2 separate regions of the Homo sapiens genome follow, and region 1 is linked to region 2. The links are contacts of gene promoters, found by promoter capture Hi-C in blood cells and fetal thymus (Javierre and others, 2016). All regions are on one chromosome and are shown on one strand. Each heading gives the region's core, a stretch centred on a gene start or on the middle of the fragment in contact. The rest is flanking DNA. Distances are from core to core; before and after follow the strand shown. Region 1 holds the start of TGFBI (transforming growth factor beta induced). Region 2 holds the start of TRPC7-AS1 (TRPC7 antisense RNA 1).

What was found. Contacts are between HindIII fragments. The CHiCAGO score rates a contact against its expected background, and 5 or more counts as called.
Region 1: a contact is called between the fragment with the promoter of TGFBI here and the fragment with the promoter of TRPC7-AS1 in region 2, in 3 of 17 cell types (naive B cells, total B cells and fetal thymus). The highest score is 7.4, in naive B cells.

What each region holds. Positions count from the first base shown.
Region 1 is chr5:136,027,096-136,032,776 of GRCh38, reverse strand. It overlaps TGFBI (transforming growth factor beta induced), which reads right to left and starts at 3,789. Exons shown (of 17, transcript NM_000358.3): 1 at 3,588-3,789. The coding sequence starts at 3,721. RefSeq lists an enhancer at 1,503-1,572. The HindIII fragment of the contact is 4,637 bases long and covers 980-5,616 here.
Region 2 is chr5:136,210,913-136,216,597 of GRCh38, reverse strand. It overlaps TRPC7-AS1 (TRPC7 antisense RNA 1), which reads right to left and starts at 2,550. Exons shown (of 2, transcript NR_046708.1): 1 at 2,175-2,550. TRPC7 (transient receptor potential cation channel subfamily C member 7) reads left to right here. Exons shown (of 12, transcript NM_020389.3): 11 at 323-398; 12 at 2,994-3,853. The coding sequence ends at 3,163. The HindIII fragment of the contact is 8,916 bases long and covers 1-4,306 here.

The DNA of each region.
Region 1 (5,681 bases), core at 2,540-5,039, 190 kb after region 2:
CTGCTGTGCTACGTGGTCAGTCAGGAGAGGCGTGGTCAGTCAGGAGAGGGTTGATCTTCCTGAGCCAGAGGCAGGCATGCATCTGACTGAATCACAAGTCAGAGGAAAGCAAATAAAACAAACAATACTGAGGGCTTTCACAAGACCTCCAAGCTCAGAGAACTTCAGGTATCACCCAAAGGATGAAGTATTTCTTTAACATCAATTTCCCTGTTACTTTAAGAATGCCATCCACAGACATCACTTGATGTGCAGCGTATTTGTTAAGAAGACACCAATATTGCAGTAAAAACTACACCTACTGTCCCCATCATGATTCCTCTGCAGGAACTTGAACAATTCTCAAATATTCAGAGTCAGGCTTTTGGGTGGGAGTCCATTCTGCCCCTTCATTTCTCTGCCCTGTCTCTTCTGCGGTGATATGACTGTCACCTCTTGGCCAGTTTTTTGTTCAACAGGTGAAAGTGAGTGGGCCCAGGAGGGACAATGAGCATTAATGAATCCATGTAAGGATCTAGGGACAAGAGAAGTGAAGGCTGGAGAAGGGACCACAGCCAGCAGAGGCCCATGCCTCCCTAGTCCTAGCTGGGCCTGACCAAATCCTCCAGATTTCTGAATACCTGGTTTCTGTTTGCTGCCTAGGATTCACAGGTTAGACAGTCCCTGAATAACCCCTGAAGAGTCCTTGCTGGCCATACTCCAGCCCCCGGTCCTATTTATTGTTACAGAATCCCAGAAGCTCTTCAATCTGATCAAGCAGGAAACAATTACTGTCAATGAATTCCCTGCCACTTTCCGTAGGCGTTTGGCGAATCTTCAGTGAGTCTCTTGTGGATGTGGCTCCAACATTCCTTTGCTGAATGTTTCCACTGCTGCTGTCCTTGTGGCAGCAGCAGAGGCTGGGGGCGGCTGTGACCCTCTCCTTCTCACATCGGGGAGTGTGGGTGGGCTGTGTACATAGGAAGTTCATGCTGAAGCTTAATTGAAATGAGCAAGTTGCTTCTGGGCCTCAAGAATAACAGCATTGATGTTCAGCTTAGATTTGAAAACCAAGTGCTTCAGGAAATTCAGTTCAGTTTTTGGTGGTTGATGTTTGGAAGTGTGATTGTATTTTTACTTCTCTTTCAGTATTATTTTTCCCCTTCCCTATAGCAACACAGATATAGCTGGGAGTCAAGAGACCATATCATAGTTATTACTCTCCCAACAGCATTCTGTGTCTGAACTAAGTCACTCTCTACCTCACTAAGCTGCAGTTTCACCTCCTGTAAAATGGGAACATGAACAGTAGATCTCACTGTGTTGTGGTGAGGTCGAAAGCAAAAGCGGCAATCGAGTGCTGCGCACAAGCAAGGCACAGCTGTTATTTCTTCCTTCATATCAGGCAGCACGCTACAATTCCTTAAAATAGCAAAGTTTTCCTTCCCTTTCTAACAGTTTTCACTTTGAATGAAAGGCTGGAGCTAGAACAACGTTATCCATTTGCACAAGGCGCCACAGCCCTGTGTGCCAGGCCAGGCAGCCCTGTGGCATTAACAGGGACAGTTAGATCAGAGTAAATACAACTGTGCCTGCAACCATTTTGCCATGGTTCATGTGCCTGCGCATCCAGATTCTACTGGGACAGGGGTGCTCCTGTGACTTCTTAGATTACTCTGCCCATCACAGATTACAATAGGCCTTTCCAGCTGTGCTGCAGGAAGCTAATTAAGAGGCTTTGCCTGCAGGGGTATGGTGGGGAAGTTGATCTAATATCTGGAACTCATAATCAAGAGCATCTGCATTTAAGAAAAAAACCCTGTTTTCCAGCTGGTCAGCACTCTTCTGGGCTCTGAAGGGAAAGAGGTTTGCTGTAAAGATGGCTCTTGATGGAAAGCCCTCAATACCTTTGAGGATCCTTCACTGTGGCTGTGCAGAGAGATGCCCTTACAGGTGACACTGTTGCAGGGCATGCTATAAGGATCTTCTCCTGACTTAGTGGCGAAGATACAGAAGAAATAGAACCCTCCTAGGCAAATTGAGGCACCCAAACATAACACAATTCATTGGCAGGAAAGGCAGAGAGACCAACGGAGAGGTGGGCAGAGATAATAAAAATGCCAGGTGCTTGCATTTTGATGTTGAGGCCTCATATCCCTCTCATCTTTCTGACATCCCCCCTCACTCTATTCTGCACACTGCCCAAGTCAAAGCTGATTCTCCCACTTCCAGAAAGACCCCAGGATATCCCCAGTATTCTCCTCTTTCCAGGAGGGTGTTGAGGTTGCAGCCAGGCCTGGTTTGATTTCACTCTGCAGGGTGGCCAGATGTGCTCCCAGCAGGCCCTCTCCGCCAGAGCCCCAAACTCCTGAAAGGCCTAGACCATAAAGCCACAAGTAGAGGAAACAAGAGCAACTATGCCCTACAAGGGGCAGCCTGTACCCGTACCCAGAGCACTCCTAGTGCAAGGAGCCAAGACTTTCAGGGCCTGTGAAGTCAACTCTATCACCCCCAACAATGAGTTTTGATTTGAGCACAGATCTGCCCAGTCTCTTGGAGGTTTGGGCATTGCTTGTGGGTGTGAACGCCAGACCCCGATGGTATTTAGGCTTCCTCTGAGGAGTCACTACAAGATTCTACTCATATATAGTTTTACCTAGTTATGAAAAAGAAGTTGGTGCAACCAGGTAGGCTGGAAGCTGCAGCAAAGCCTGGGTATTTGTGACGCAGGTATGGCCTGGTTTTTGAGGTAGAAATGTTGCCTGCCTCTGCCTGGGTCAGTATTAGGGCCACTATCAGACCAGACCTTCTGCTTGAGTTTGTCTCCTAAAGCCAACACATCTTCAGGGTCTCAAAGGAATTCCTGCAATGATAGTGTCCTACATTTACAAACCCAGCTATTACTTTAAGACAGACTCCAATCCTGGCTCCAGTGCACACTTCAGGACTGTGGGAAAGTGGAACCACTCAGGACTCAGTTTCCCCATTTGAACAGTGTGTGTGAGGGCCCAGTGCATTCTCCTGCTCTTCATCGGGCAGGACAAGAAGTGCCACATTGCCCTTGCTGTACCCAGAGAGCAGTGTCGGGTGCCAGCAGTGTCTGAGTGCAGGGCCTGGCCAGGAGCACAGGAGCCTGGGGCACCTTAGATGCTGCCACCGTGTGTGGCCCAGGTTCTTGTCTGGAGTCGCTGGCCGGGGGCCTGGCTGGGTTGGAATAGGTGTACTGCTGGGTGGGCTTTGCCCTTGGCACCCTCCCACGGTGATTATGGCCAAAGAGTTGCCATTTCCCCCTTTCTGCAGTGGCTGGGAGGAGAAGCTGAAAGCGCTGTCCGTCTCAGGCTCTTGGCCTGCGTCGAAAGTCTCTGGTCCACTTCCCCACTCCCTTCTACAAAGCGGCGGCCTCCCGCTTTCCCTCCATGGTCCTCCACCTCCCTCCCTCTCTCCTTCCACCGCGTGCAGGGCTGGTGTCCGAGCGCTCCATGCTGCAAGGTTTTTAGTTCGGGCTTTGTCCCCTGCGCCCCCAGCCCAGTTCAATGCCCCCAGCGGCTTGCGCTCCGAGCCCCGACTACCTGACCTTCCGCAGCCCCTGGCCAGGCGGCTCGGCTTACCCGTGCTGGCGGCCCCGGAGCCTGCTGTGCTGCAGCACCAGCTGGTAGGGCGACTTGGCGGGACCCGCCAGGGTCGCGGCGGGGCCCAGGGCCAGAGCCAGGGCGAGAGCCAGCAGCCGCACGAAGAGCGCCATGGAGCGGGACGACGCGCACCGAGCGAGCTAGCGACCGACGGGCAAGCGGGCGGCTCCAGGGAAGTGAGAGCGCCTCCGCCGCCCGGGCCAGGTTAAGTAAGCTGCGAGCGGGAGGGAGCGGACGCCAGGGGCGGGGAAGCTGGGCCGGCCCGTGCAAGGAGGGCGGGCCGCCTGGCGCCTCCCAACCCGTGCGCCCCTGGCTGCCCTGGGCACCCACCCGCTCCCGCACTGTGCCCGTGCTCAGTTTTCCCAGCCCTTGCCCTCACTGCCAGCCCTCCCTCCCTCTCTCCCTCGCCACAGTCTTCCTCAAACCAAGGGTATAGGTCCCTTAGGCCTCCTGTGGCTGCTTCCAAATGGGGACCTTGGGACTGAGGGACAGCTGTCTCGGGGGCTTCGGTCCTGCATGCTGGGGGCCCGAAGATTCCCTCACTGATCTTGAGGCTACAAAACACTGCAGGGAGGGGTGAGGGGAGGCAGTGCTGATTCCCAGAACACCATGGCCCATCAGACTTGTTTCTGCACCCCAGGAGCTGACCACCCTCCCCAGCTCCTCAATCTCTAATCCCTCCACCCCCACCCCACCTGTCATGCTCATTGAAAGACAGATGAGTAAATCGTGTGATCCACAGAAACGCCAAAAATGTGGGGCAGGTTTTGTTGGGCTCTAAGCTGCTTTTGGAGCCCGTGGGGAAGGGTGGGGTCCTCACCTTGGTACTAATTCATTCCCTTCTTCAGTAAACATCTCTGCAACAGTACCTGCCAGATAGATTCTGCAAAGGCAAGAGTCCTGCCCTGGAGGAGCTCAAGGCAGGTAAACAAATTGTCACATGGTAAAGAGGTGATACTTACCCAAGCATCTATTAATCACCTGTCAGTTACTTGGCACTGCTAGCCCTGGGGAGACACAGATGGATTAATAGAATGAGTGAGACCTAAGCCCTTTGTGAAAAAGCTCCAATTTGGGAAGATCCGTAGCCCAAGCCAATGATGTTCCATGAAGAGTAGCTGGGGCTTTGGGAGCTAAGAAGAGGCACCTGGCCCTGACAGGGTGATACCTGCTCTGAGGCCTGAAAGATGAAAATGAGTTAATCAGGTAAACTGAGGCATGCATTCACGAAACTCAAGTTATCTGGTTGGCTGAAGCACAGGGAGGTGGAGTCAAGGGTAGGGAAGAAGGGGAGGAAGGTAGCAGGGCCCAGACTCCAGCTAAGAGCCTAGCGGGTGATGGGTGGAGGCAAGTGACATGGCCAGTGTCATGAGAGGCTTAAGGAGGCAAGAAGAACAGGTAACCAGGAAGGGACCATGGGAGAGCTTGAACTATGGTGGTAGAGGCAGAGATGGGGAAGGCTGGGCAAATGTGAGGGGTGTAGGAGGTAATAGTCTCAATAGAATTTGGAGTCTGTATACAGGGAGAAGGGGAGAAAGGAGAGTCAAGGATATTGTAGGGTGTTTGTGGTCTGGACATTGCAGCAGGTGATGGTGCCATGTTCAGAATGAGGCACATGCAGAGTGCAGGCTTGCCAGGTAGATGAGTGGTTTGGGACACCCTGAGTCTGAGGTGCTTATGACTCATCCTGGTGAAGCATCCCATGAGGATAAAGCTGGATATGAGGATCGGGGGCTTGAGTGAGGGACGCGGGATGAAGATTCACACCTGGGAGTCATCCTCCAGTGACAGAAGAGCCCAGGAAGTAGAGAATGTGGGGTTGTAGTCAAGGAGGGGTATCCTAGTAGGAGGGCGCTGCTCAAAGTGAGGAATGCTGCCAACAAGACAGATCTGAATGGCTTTCACTGTGTCAGAAGCAGAGAGGCCACTGGGGACTTGGCTGTGGAGAGCAGATGGCCAAAGCCCGAATATGGTGGTTTGATGGAGAGATGAGTAGCATGTAGAAGCTTGTCTGAGAAGGGAAGGGGCGAGTTAGGATGGCAGCCAGGGAAAGAAAAAGACAAGCGGGGCTTG
Region 2 (5,685 bases), core at 1,301-3,800:
CCTGGAGCAGAGATTTGTGCCACTGCCCACTCCACCCTTTCTCTCTGTCTCTCTCTCTGCTTGGCTCAGCTTCCTGCCATTAAGAAGTATTCCTGTTACATCCCAGGTTCAGTTGCACATTGCATCCTGCGGGGGAGGCGAAACAGAGGCTGGCCAGGTACCCGCACTGTGCAGGGCACCCCTCCAGAGTGAGGCGCCAGGCATGGGAGGGTCGCCATGGTTGCTGAGGCTCTTCAAGGGAGGGAGGGGTCCTGCTACACCACGCAGGCTGCCTCTGCATTAGGCCAGCCCTGTCTGATCCCTTCCTTGCTTGGCATTTCAGAAAATCATGAAACGGCTCATAAAAAGATACGTCCTGAAAGCCCAGGTGGACAGAGAAAATGACGAAGTCAATGAAGGTAAATGACTGGATTTCCACCCACGTGGTGATTTAAAACAACACAGGTTCTGTGGGTCTCACTGGGCTACGGCCACAGTGTTGTCAGGGCACTGTGCTCCTTTCCAGAGGCTCCAGGGAGGCTCAGTCTCCTTGCTCATTCAGTTGTCGGCAGAGTGCATTTCCACGGGGCTGCAGGCCTGTCCCTGTTGCCTTGCTGGCCACAGCTGGGCTGCCCTGAGCTCCAGCACTTGGTCTGTGCATACAGCCCCACCACCTCAGAGCTGGCAGCAGGCATCAGGCACCCTCACACTCCATTTGCCCTGCCTCATCTTCCATTGTCCCATCTCTGACCCCACTCTTCTGCCTTCCTCCTCCACCATTTTTTTTTTTTTTTTTGAGATGGAGTCTCACTCTGTTGCCCAGGCTGGAGTGCAACGGCACAATCTCGGCCCACTGCAACCTCTGCCTCCTGGGTTCAAGTGATTCTCCTGCCTCAGCCTCCTGAGTAGCTGGGATCACAGGTGTGTGCCACCACGCCCAGCTAATTTTTGTATTTTTTTAGTAGAGATGGGGTTTTACCATGTTGGTCAGGCTGGTCTCGAACTCCTGACCTTGTGATCCGCCCATCTCAGCCTCCCAAAGTGTTGGGATTACAGGCATGAGCCACTGCGCCCGGCCCCTCCTCCACTTTTAAGGACTCATGTGATTGAATTGGTTCCACCAGGACAATCCAGAATAATCTCCTTCTGTTAAGGGCAGCTGATCAGCAACCTGAATTCTATTTGCCACCTCAGTTCCCCTTTGAGGAGAAACAGTCATGTTTCCCACAGGCAGAACATCAGGGATCAGGACGGGGACATCTTGGGAGTAGGGGACATTCCTCTGCCTCCCACAGCAATGGCAGCCTTGAGCCAACCTCATGCCTCTTGAGTGCAGGATGGTTCAGAATTCCAATGCTGTACTTCATTCCATGGTGCACATCCACTGAGCAGATGCACACTGCGTTTAGGGTCTGCCGCCGCTTGCTTCTAACTGGCCCTGTCCAGTCTCAGTGGGAGGTTCTCAGCATCTAACTGACAGCCGTGTTTCTCAAAGTGTTCCCCACCTCAGAACTAGCTGTTAAAACTACAGATCCCAGACCCCACCCAGACCTAATGAATCAGCATCTCTGGAGTGGGGTCTGGGGATCTGCTTTTGGAAAACTGCACCAAGGGTCTCTGATATACACTGAAGTTTACCAACTATATTATTTTCACTGTTTGGGTTGTTTTCCAGTCTATTTTAAGCAGTTACTCTTAGATGAAAAGCAAATTACTTTATGCCAGGTAATTAATGAGATACTTATGACAAATATTTGCCACCTAGAAACAGCCTCATCCATGATTGAAGTTTCTGTTCTCCTAGCTTGGGCCACAGGGAACTACAGAAAGAGCCTGGTCATTGGGTGACCCTCTGCTTCATCCTGGGGCACCCAGCATGCAGCTCGAAGCTCAGCCATAACTGAACTGCCCCTGAGCTGACATGGTTTAGGGGCAGACAACAGCCCACCTACCTACTTGTAGGTCTCAAACAATGGCCAAGTGTCAGGCCAGCCAGCCTCAAGCAGTATGTAACTGATTCATGTGAATATCACTGATCATAGAAGGTGGGGGTATCCAGGTGTCATGGCACTTAAATTACACCATGAAACGGGGGCTCAGTGAAGCATCTGATAAAAACAGGGGGTGTATCCATTTGTCAAAATGGATCAAACTGTACCTTTAAGATCTCTGCCTTTTATGTGTATAGACCATACCTGAAAAATAGACGAGTAATGTTTCCACAGACAGTGGACTCCCACACGAGCCAAGTGCAGTATCTACAGTATTAGGAAAGATCCTTTTGACATCTGTTTGTGGTTAATAAGAAGATTCCCACAGCCTAGACCCATTGGACTTCTAACCACAAGGTTCTCTGTGGAAATAAAAGTGAAAGTCCCTGCTAGGTGGTCCCTCGTTATGGAAGGAGGAGGCGGCAGGCATTGACGAAGCTCCTGTCAGCGAGGTGGTGCTGCTGCTTGTGTGGGCTGAGTGGACCGTGCTCAGGTGGCCAGCTCACTCCCAAGAGGCTGGTCAGCTCCATGGCCACCACGGCTGCATCTGCTGTGCCGAGCCATTCTCTCCAGGCTCCTGGGAGTTTCTCCTCCCTACAAATAACAATGACAGAACAAAACATAGCATCATCAAAAGCAATGCTCTGGTTAATGGGGTTGTTTTCCAGAGTCTTGAAATCTGCCTTTAGTGACTCTGAAACAAACTTTCTAACAAGTATTTTATGAAACAAGTGCTAGACACAATTCACAGCCCTGATCTTGACTCCTCCTTCAAACCCCTAAGGGAAAGGTTTTCCTGGAATGGGAGGAGAAGGGCTTTCTATGGATCGATGTGTCCTTCAGTGGTGGGGGAGCTGGGTGGTTCTGGGTTCAAATAGAGCCCCCCTTGCCTCACCTTCAACCCTGGTGGGCTGGCCCAGGACCCGACATTCCACTGGAAGGATGCACATGCCCACATGTGCATGGGACAAGCCCCGAGCTTCCACCTACTCAGACTCAGCAAAATCTCCTCTGTCCTTGCAGGCGAGCTGAAGGAAATCAAGCAAGATATCTCCAGCCTGCGCTATGAGCTTCTTGAGGAAAAATCTCAAGCTACTGGTGAGCTGGCAGACCTGATTCAACAACTCAGCGAGAAGTTTGGAAAGAACTTAAACAAAGACCACCTGAGGGTGAACAAGGGCAAAGACATTTAGCAGCCCACATCGGCGTCTGTGACTTCTACCAGCATTCCAAGGCCAGGTTGGATGCCCTCGCCCCCATCCTTGGTGGGGAGGGGTCCCCAGCCCACTCCTCTAGGACACGAAGGGGATCTCCTGGCTCAGTCTCTTGCAGCATGACTGACATCTCCAGCCCGCTGGCCTGCCTAGACCCAGAACTGCTGTGAATCTAGGTGGTTGGGTAAGAAAAGCTACCATGGGAGGAGGGGAGGAACAGCCCCCTGACGAGTGTGAGACCTTTGGTCCAGCCACAGTGAAACCCATCCCTGTGGCCAGAGCAGGAAAAGGCCATCTTGGGTGCACACCTGTGCCCTCCCACTGCAGGTGGGACTGCAGCTCTGGCTGTGTCCTGGGAAGACAAACACCTCAACCCACAAACTCCTTCTCACTCCCTCCCTGCCACCCCCAACACATCCAAACAGAACCAGGAGGTGACCTGTGATCTATTCTTAAGTGCCAGATGAGAACACAGCCTAATAGCAAAATAGTTCTATTTGTTTATATAAAAAAAAAGTTTAAAAATCCTAAATTGAAAACTGTACTGTAGGTAGCACTGTTTAGAAAACAACAACAAAATCCAAATGATGTATTTTTACCTTTATTAAGATTATCTTGTATTTACTATTTTTACCTAAAATGGAAAGAAATAAAATTACCTCATAATAACTTCTGTGGATACGCTACCAGGGCCGCCCCACTCGCGGGCCCAGTCTGGAGGTGGCCTTGGGAACCTGTGGCCCAGGGATGCTTCGGGAGGAGAATGGGCCGATGCGGTGGGGGTTGGGTGGGGACGAAGGCACCACCCTCCTTAGAGTCATGCAGCCAGGACCCCCAGAAGCTCCAGCCTCCACCTCCAAGCCCCTCCTCCTGTGCCCAGACCTAAGGTCAGGAAGGAGGTAAAGGAAATGCAGAACAAGTGGAAAGTTTTCTCCCACCCCATTCTAGAACTTTCCTCCATGTGAAAGGAAGGGGAGGGGCAGGAATGAGGCCTCAAAGTGTCCCCCCAACCAAGGAAGAGGCTAAGTGTGAGTGGGGAGAGCAGCCACCAGAGGGCGCTGAGTCCCAAACAATGCCTGTTCGGAGCAGGTGTGCGAAGATGCCATTCATCTTCCAGAAGCTTCCAGAAGAGCCCTCTGCTCCCAAGGAAATATTCCTAGGGCTGGCCAGAAGTATTCAGCTTTTGCCGTGTACCAGGCACTGTGCTCGGGGCTTTGCATGCATCAGTCCACCGGATCCTCACAGCAACCCTGTGAGGAGGGTGATGGTTACAAATTCACATGCCTTGCAGACGTTCTAGAGGGGGGAAGATAAATATATAATAATTATATATATATATATATATGCATGTGTGTATGTGTAAATGTATATATGTATGTATATGTAGAAAGAGGGAGCTTGTGTTTCAAGACATACGTCTTTGTCTTCAGGGGCAAACATTTTTTTTACTTAACTCTGCTATAAGAAACAGCCGATCAGATGAGGCGATAAATAGAAGTGAGGTTGGTGCCAGCATTGATGGGAGTGACGAGGGACGATGACAGACTGCACAGCCGTGCCCTGCCTAAAGCAGGCTGCAGACACTCAGCTCAGCCCATCGTTGCCATAAGGAATATAAGTCCTGTTTTGCCACATCTTCCCAACTGCTGAAAAAAAGAAAAAGTCAACATTTGTTGGGCTCCTGGCCGCCAAGATAGGCAGCAGAAGATGAGACATGGCTCCATGCCTGGGCCTTCCCAACCCAATCTGCACCACCACCTAGTATTCAAGCAAGACAGAAACAGGCATTTGACAGGTACTGGGCATACTGCATATGCAGGGGCACTTGACAGACATAAACTCTGGCCCAGGAGGAGGATCCATAGAGGACCATGGATGGATTTCAAAGAGCCTGCAAGTCCTAAGGTGCCCTTCAGGCTGTGTGCTTGTCTTTGCAATGGGTGCATTGTTCTGGAGAGAACACCTGTAGCTTTTTGCAAGCACTCATCTACACGCCCCCGGCAAGTCCACAAATGAGGAATGACTTTACTCAGCAGCTATGTACTAAGCCCCTTGCCAAGTGCTAGGGACAGAGCCACATGCATCCAGTGTGGCTCCCTTTTTAAACCCAGACTCTGAAAAGGGAGGCTTAAGTGCTTTGTAGGAAGAGCAATTGATTCATCCAGGGGACAAATTGCTAACACTTCTGGAAGACTGCCTTTCAGATCCCTCATTTATCTTTATCAGAATGCTAATCAATACTTCTGAGATGCATTCTTCAATTTCTCTATCTGCCTTCAGCCAAAGGCAGTTAGCAACCCCATTTTCAAACCATGGGGCACACTTTTCCTATCAAACCTAAGTCTCAGATCTACTCCTTATAGAGATAAAGGAAAACCAGTCTCACTGAGTAATTAAAAACTGGGAAAGAAAACTAGTACCATCCATTAGGGTTTTAATGCCATGTCTAGGAGGTAAAGGTAGTCCAGGAATGAATTCATGGCTGTCAGATGGCTATGGGG